Linked DNA regions of Homo sapiens: region 2 is linked to region 1. Evidence: promoter capture Hi-C in 16 types of primary human blood cells and fetal thymus (Javierre and others, 2016). All regions are on one chromosome and are shown on one strand. Each heading gives the region's core, a stretch centred on a gene start or on the middle of the fragment in contact. The rest is flanking DNA. Distances are from core to core; before and after follow the strand shown. Region 1 holds the start of MYCBP2-AS1 (MYCBP2 antisense RNA 1). Region 2 overlaps BORA (BORA aurora kinase A activator).

Region 1 (3,762 bases), core at 858-3,357:
ACCCCCAAAAAATCTACAGTTCACATCACACTTAATAATGAATGGTTTATACTTTCTTTTCAAGATCCAGAACAAGTCAGAGCTATCTGTTCTCATTACTTCTATTCAGCATGGCGCTTAAGGGCTTAATCAATGCAATAACACAATAATATAAGAAAAGAAATTTAAGGCATATAGTTTAGAAAGGAAAAAACCCAAATTTATTGAAGACTACATGATTATCTAAGAAAACCCCAAAGAGTCTATAAAAAGTTTCTGAAATTAGTAAGTGAATTTAAGATCACAGGGTAGAAATCTAATATACAAAAGTCAATTCTATTTTTATACACTAGAAATGAACAATTGGAAAGTGAAATAAAAAATACCATTTACAATAGCTTTACAAATGTTAAATGTTTAGGAATAAATTTAATAAAATATGTACAAGATGTGTACAATGAATTACAAAACACTGCTGAGAGAAATTTTAAACAGATGTAAGAAAACCCCTGATACATATCATGTTCACAGATACGAAGACTCAATATTATTGACATGGCGATTCTCCCTAAACTATCAATTTGGTGTTAATTCCAGTCAAAATTCCATCCCCACCGCCCCCCCCCCTTTTTTTTTTAAAGAAACGGTCAAGCTGATTCTAAGCTTTATATGGAAATGCAAGAGATCTAGAATAGCCAAAATAACTTAGATAAAGAACAAAGTTAGAACCTGATATCAAGACTTTTTATAAAGCTACAGTAAGTAAGACACTTTGATGGATCAATGGAGCAGAATAGAGTCCAGAAACAGACCTACCATTTATGGTAAATTGACTATTGATAAATGATAGTCTTCTCAATGAATCGTAGTAGAACAATTGAACATCTATATGCAAAAGATAAGCCTCAATTCTTACACTGCACATAAAAATTAAAATGTATACAGTTCTAAAGAAAAGAACTAAAACTATAACATTTCTAAAGGAAAAGAAGAGAATATCTGTGTGACCTTGGGTTCTAGACCATACATAAAAATCATGAATCAAAAAAACAAGAAAAAACTGGACTTTATCAAACTTAAAAACTTCTGTTCTCTGAAAGATAAGACACAGACTAGGAGAAAATATTTGAAAACACATAATTGGTAAAAGACCTGCAAAGATCTGTATGTGAGTGTTCACAGCAGCTTTACTAATAGTAGCCAAACAGCAGAAACAACCCAAATATCCATCAAAAAATGAAAGGATAAACAAATTACGGTAAATCCATATAATGGAACACTTCTCAGCAACCAAAAGAATGAACCATGGCTACATGCTACAACATGGATAAATCTCAAAAGCATTACACTAAAGTGAAAGAAACAAGACAAAAAGGCTACATTCTGAGTGGTTCCATTTATATGACATCCAGGAAAAGGCAACACAACACTGGCAGAATATAGTTCAGTAGTTGCTAGGCTCTAAGTGTGAGGTTGGGGGATTGCCTGCAAAGGAACATGAGAGAAATTTGGGGAGTGATGTGTTTTAAAACTTGGTTGTGGGCTGGGCATGGTGGCTCATATCTGTAATCTCAGCACTTTGGGAGGCCAATGCTGGCAGACTGCTTGAGCCCAGGAGTCTGAGACCAGCCTGGGCAACATGGCAAAACCACATCTCTGCAGATATATTAAAATCAGCTGGGCACGGTGACGTGCACCTGTAGTTCCAGCTACTTGGGAGGCTGAGACAGGAGGATCCATTGAGCCCGGGAGGTTGAGGTTGCAGTGAGCCGTGATCATACCACTGCACTCTATCCTGGATGACAGAGAGAGACCCGGTCTCAAGCAAAACAAAACAAAACAAACTTGATTGTGATAATGATTTCACTAGTGTACACAAGTAAAAATTCATTGAATGATACAGTTTAAAATGAGGAATTTCTGTATGTAAATTGTGCTTCAATAATCTAACTTAAAAAAAGATTCTCTTAAAAATCATGTTATTTCATGGGCACACACATGACAGTATAACCTTTCCTACTCAACCTTAACTCCTCAGCATACACTCTCCCACCCTTAGGCCAGTCTCTCTGATCAGTCCTTGCTCCCATTCTCTCTACTAATCTCATTTGAATCCCTTCATTCTCTTTCAGATCTAACTCCAGTCCAATATCCCCTAAGAAGCCTTCTCTGACCACTCCAGGGCACAATGATCTCAAGGTACTCTGAAAGCCAATGTCATCTGCAATTTTTTTCACACATTTAATAACTTGCTTTTATACTATATAGTATCTTTGTTGATTTCTTTTTGGGGGGGGTGAGGGGAATGCAGAGGGTTCATAACCAAGAACAGAATGCAAGCTTTTTGAGGGCTTGCCATTCTCACAATTGTTTAGTACAGAGTTGACATCTGCTAAAATTCAATTGACTTAACAGGTAGTTACACAGTCTTGTAGTCATTCAAATGAAATCTCCAAAAGATGTTGAAAGAAGTTACCAGCATTTAAGAAATCTTATTTTTTTCAGACCTCAAACAAAAACAGGACAATGATTAGATACTACTGTATTAAGAAACACAGGGTGAGACAAGGGAAATCCTTGAAATTTATCTTTCAAAGGGCTGCCAAGGTGATTATTTGTAGCATTTAAAGACACTAGAATATTGAGACTAGTCAGAGTTGACTTCTCTTTTTGCAAATGGATGAAGTACAAAAGTTTTAGGTATAGTGTTTTAGTCAGGACCGAAAAAGTAAAGCAACTGTATTTTTGCAAGAAATTTCAAGAACAGTAACAAAGAGTAGTTATTCTAATAAAAATTTACTAAACATGTGTGTGATGCTACCATGATGGATACAAAGACAAATTAGACATGGACTTGGTCTTTAAGAAGCTATGGTTCAGTAGAAGAGAGAAAACATCCATGTAGATAAACATAAGAGAAAAATGAAGAAGAGACACATACAGATTATTATGAACTCCAGCAGAGAGAAAACTGCTTTTGTTTGGGGAAATCATAAACAAATTTCATGAAGAGGATAAATCGTAAAAAAGTTTCATGAAGAAGACAGTACTTTTGAGCTGAACTGTGAAGGACAGGGACAATGGAGGAGGGAGAAGATAACTGATGGGGTATAGCACAGAAATGATTACAAATGAATGCAAAAACCCAAGGTATAGAGCAAATTTGCTGTTACTTAAAATACTAGCTAGATTATACATGAATAATGAATTTCTTTTAGATAGTTCCTTCATCTTTCTAAGAACAAATATGAACTGCATAAAACTGTTATTACATATCCATCAAAATATACAGCAATAAATGAATTATTTCACTGAAAAAAAGAATAAAAAAGGGAAATAAATATCTTTAGAATACAAATAAATACATTGTATACTTTTTCTTCTCCTTCAGGTGATGACAATAGTGCTTTTTCCTCTTGTTCTGGTGTAGGTTCAGCATCTCCAGAGATGAGCTTTCCAAATACCTGATGAAGATATGCATGTGAGAAGGAATTAATGACAGGCATTAACACTATATTGGCCAGAGGACTCATTAGCTGATTCCGCAGGTTTTATAATATGCTACTCTTGCTAATATACACCACTATTTTTCTTAATTACAAATGCAACATGGAACTCAGGTGTTTAGGGCTATGAAAAGAAAAAATGGGCAACATTTATAGCCAGAAATTTCTGTAATAAGTTTCACAAAATATTTTGTTACACTCTTAAAATATATTACATCAATTATCCTGTGCTAGAATATGTTGTAAGGACACTCACTTGAGACGTAATCAGTCTGAA
Region 2 (3,610 bases), core at 423-2,922, 4.3 Mb before region 1:
GGGCTTAAATGCAAAATGATTCCCTTGTGGATTGCTTTCTTTGGTGCTCAGCATTATACAGGTAAATGGAGCGTTGTGCAGTGAACAGAACCTGGACTTAGGTCTCACATCTTCATCACCTCATCACTGGATGACATTGTGAAAGTTAAGCTTTTTAAGCCTTAATTTCCTTCTCTAGTAAAGTATTAGGGTTGTTGAAAGGAGAAAAAAATATTAAATATATAGAGATAGTGCCTGGCCTTTTTAGACACTCAATAAATGTTTCCAAGCTGGAAGTTCGCTAGAATCTTTCTTTTTTGCTCTTTTGCACTGAAACAGTGTATCTTAGGATGCTACAATTTTTATTAACATGAAAAGCTGAACTAACATCTAGAGCCATTATATATGTGGCATTATTGTGAACAACTAGGTGTAAATATAATATAATCCACTTTTTTAAAGGCAGCATGCCTCAAGCCATTTAGAGACAAGCCTGGAAAATGCGTTGGAAGGTGAAGTTAGTTGTAATACTCATTTTTGTCTACTAGGTACGATCACAAAATAACAGGAAAGCATTGTGTCAGTAGGCTGTTCACTGATTCTTAAGGAAGTTACAAGATATATTTCATTGGAAGGAATTGTAAAATGACTACAATAATCAGTACTATGCAGGACTACCTTTTATATTTGTGCATTACTTTTGAATTTTGTTCAACATGATCAATATTACATGTTAGGATCATTCAGATGTAGTGAATGAGAGTTTATAGTGGTTTACTTATTTAAATATTTGACTTTTAAGTTCCTCACAATATATTTTTTTCTTTTTTCTCCTGTCAGATGGATAGTGGCTATAATACGCAGAATTGTGGAAGCAATATTATGGATACAGTTGGGGCAGAAAGTTACTGCAAAGAAAGTGATGCACAAACATGTGAAGTTGAGAGTAAATCTCAAGCATTTAATATGAAGGTACGGAGAAAATATAGTGAAAGCTTAATATTGTTTAGATTAGAAATATAAAATAATTTTGATTATTAGACAATAGTACTATTGAGAAACTATATGAAATTTAAAACACTAAAAGGTAAGCCTGTTTTCTTAACATCCAATAACCTTTAAATATTTTGGTTACTCTGAATACACAAGTATCTTACATACTACAAAGTGTGCAAAGGTAGCGTGTATTTGATGAGGGCATTTACTGAACCTTCCAGGTGGTGGTTATATATTCATACTTGAAGAAACTCATCATAATTTCAGGCACTAGTCAGGACAGTCTTTAATTTTATGTGCCAATTTTTTTTGCATTTTATTTTTTTGTAGAGACAGGGCCTGCTGTGTTGCCCAGGCTGGTCTCAAACTCCTGGTGTCAAGCAGTCTTTCTGCCTCAGCCTCGCAAAGTGCTGCGCGATTACAGGCATGAGCCAACATGCCCAGCCTTGTATGCCGTTTCTTTTTTTTCTTTTTTTTTTTTTTTGAGACAGGGTCTTACTCTGTCACCCGGGCTGGAGTGCAGTCGTAGAATCAGATCACTACAGCCTTTAACTGCTGGGCTCAAGCAATCCTCCTGCCTCACCCTCCTGAGTAGCTAGAACTACAGGTGTGAACCACCTTGCCCTGCTGTTATATGCCAGTTTCTTATAAAATACTATAAATATCAGCAAATGTGCAACAAATGTTTAATAGGGAGGCCACCTTAGTTTTCCTTTCTGTTGTATGTAGTAGGAGCAAACTGCCTTTCTGTTGTATGTAGTATCAGAGCAGGTCTCTTCTAATATTAACCTGAACAAAATCCATCCTATTTCAGGATGCAGTTGTCTATCTAAACATAAGTAGAGATAAATGAAGGATTTTTTTAAATTTTATTATTTTATTTTTTTTGAGACAAGGTCTCATTCTGTCACCCAGGCTAGAGTGTAGTGGCACGACCACAGCTCACTGTAGCCTTCACCTCCCAGACTCAAGCAGTCTTACCACCTCAGCCTCCTGAGTAGCTAGGGCTACAGGCATGTGCCACCACACCCAGCTTTTTAAAATTTTTGGTAGAGACAGGGTCTCACTATGTTGCCAGGGCTAGTCCCAAACTCCTGGGCTCGTGCGATCCTCCCACCTTGGCCTCTCAAAGTGTTGGGATGCTTTTTGATGCAGAATATTGATTTATAAAATACTGTATCTTTACTGTCCCTTCAGAGTTCAGCTAAAGAAACGTGCTTTTAGGTTTTAAAAACAGTCCCGATAATTGCATCCTCCAGTGGTCCTACTTAAACTGAAAACAAGGTATTGTCTTCTTTTTCACAGCAAGACCACACAACACAGAGGTGTTGGATGAAAACAGCAAGCCCTTTTCAATGCAGCAGTCCATAGAATGCCTCTGTCAGAATCAAAGACTAAGCTTAAGAGTTCCTCGCATATATCGTTGTGCACAGGATCAACATGATGGTGACTGGGAAAAAATTACTTCAAGTAACATGCTTAGCTTTCCCTCCTTAATGTGAAAAATCAAGGGCTTACTGACATAGGAACAACAGAAATGCTCCTGGAACTTCAAGTTGCTGAATTATAAGTTTATTTTTTATCAATAAATATTTTTATACTTACATTGAGTGATGTGTTTAACAACAAATTGTGACAGAGCTGAGTGCTCCTATCTTACAGGGTCAATGAACTACTTATTAAGCCTTACTGGTAGCACTGAATTTAGCAGTTCTGAGAACATGTGAAACTATGTTAAAACTGAAGGCACTATATATTTTTACATAAAAGCTTGAACATACAGATGAATTATAACCTATGTGAAGAAATCTTAGATATAAAACTAACTTTTCAAAGATACAAAAGAAATTAAACAGGTTTCCTGAAATTTTAGTTCTTGGTCTGTTCACCTCTGTGGGGAAAATTCTTAGTTCCAGTGATAACTGTTCTAGTTACTACTTTTAAGTATGTAAATACTAGAAAGGTAGTACTAGTGACATCATCACGTGTATTGTTATCTATGGGGCAAATGTGTGGTGCCCAGAATAAAATATACCTCATGCCTAGGGTAGGGACATCCTTTCCAGCTCAAACGTGGGTAGGGATGTGGGAGAATAAGAATGTGGGAGAACCAAGAGAAAAAGTGGGGCTGGGAGAGTGGAGTTCCCGTAGGGCATAGGCCTGTGAAGTAACACTGGGGCAGATATGTATGTTATATACAACTATTTTTTTAAAAAACTTATATCCATGTTGGGAGTAGATGGGTATATAACAGTTTGGAAATACTATCTTTGGAGAATGTATTTTTGTATTTATAAATCAACTTTTAAAAACTGTCTCATTCAAAAGGGAATAAAGACCTGTGTTATCAATGTGTCATTTTCTTCTTTCCTCCATAACTGTACCTTGAAACCTTACTGCTGACCTGCAGAAAATGTGCCGCGTTATGTACCTGGCTCATCTTCAACACACTAACCATGAACACTAATAGCCATTAGGGGACATGGCTACAGATACTACATTGGAAAGTTGTCTTTAATCACACAGGTGTTAAACTCAATATAAATTTACCTAAAAACAATTGCTATACCTAAAAGGAGTTCTGGGTACTAAGGGTAGAAGCCTCACTGGCTACAGTTTTTTAATAGTACAAAAG

Evidence for each region. The method cuts DNA at HindIII sites, captures the fragments that hold promoters and counts their contacts. A CHiCAGO score of 5 or more calls a contact.
Region 2: a contact is called between a fragment that was not itself captured here and the fragment with the promoter of MYCBP2-AS1 in region 1, in 1 of 17 cell types (naive CD4 T cells). The highest score is 5.9, in naive CD4 T cells.

What each region holds. Positions count from the first base shown.
Region 1 is chr13:77,073,407-77,077,168 of GRCh38, forward strand. MYCBP2-AS1 (MYCBP2 antisense RNA 1) reads left to right here and starts at 2,108. Exons shown (of 4, transcript NR_046716.1): 1 at 2,108-2,178; 2 at 3,410-3,527. It overlaps MYCBP2 (MYC binding protein 2), which reads right to left. Exons shown (of 83, transcript NM_015057.5): 67 at 3,742-3,762; 68 at 3,345-3,443. The HindIII fragment of the contact is 1,677 bases long and covers 641-2,317 here.
Region 2 is chr13:72,752,871-72,756,480 of GRCh38, forward strand. BORA (BORA aurora kinase A activator) reads left to right here. Exons shown (of 12, transcript NM_024808.5): 11 at 820-951; 12 at 2,281-3,326. The coding sequence ends at 2,346. It overlaps DIS3 (DIS3 exosome endoribonuclease and 3''-5'' exoribonuclease), which reads right to left. Exons shown (of 21, transcript NM_014953.5): 21 at 1-3,610. Among named protein-coding and RNA genes, the nearest start is that of BORA, 27 kb to the left of the region's middle. The HindIII fragment of the contact is 1,400 bases long and covers 973-2,372 here.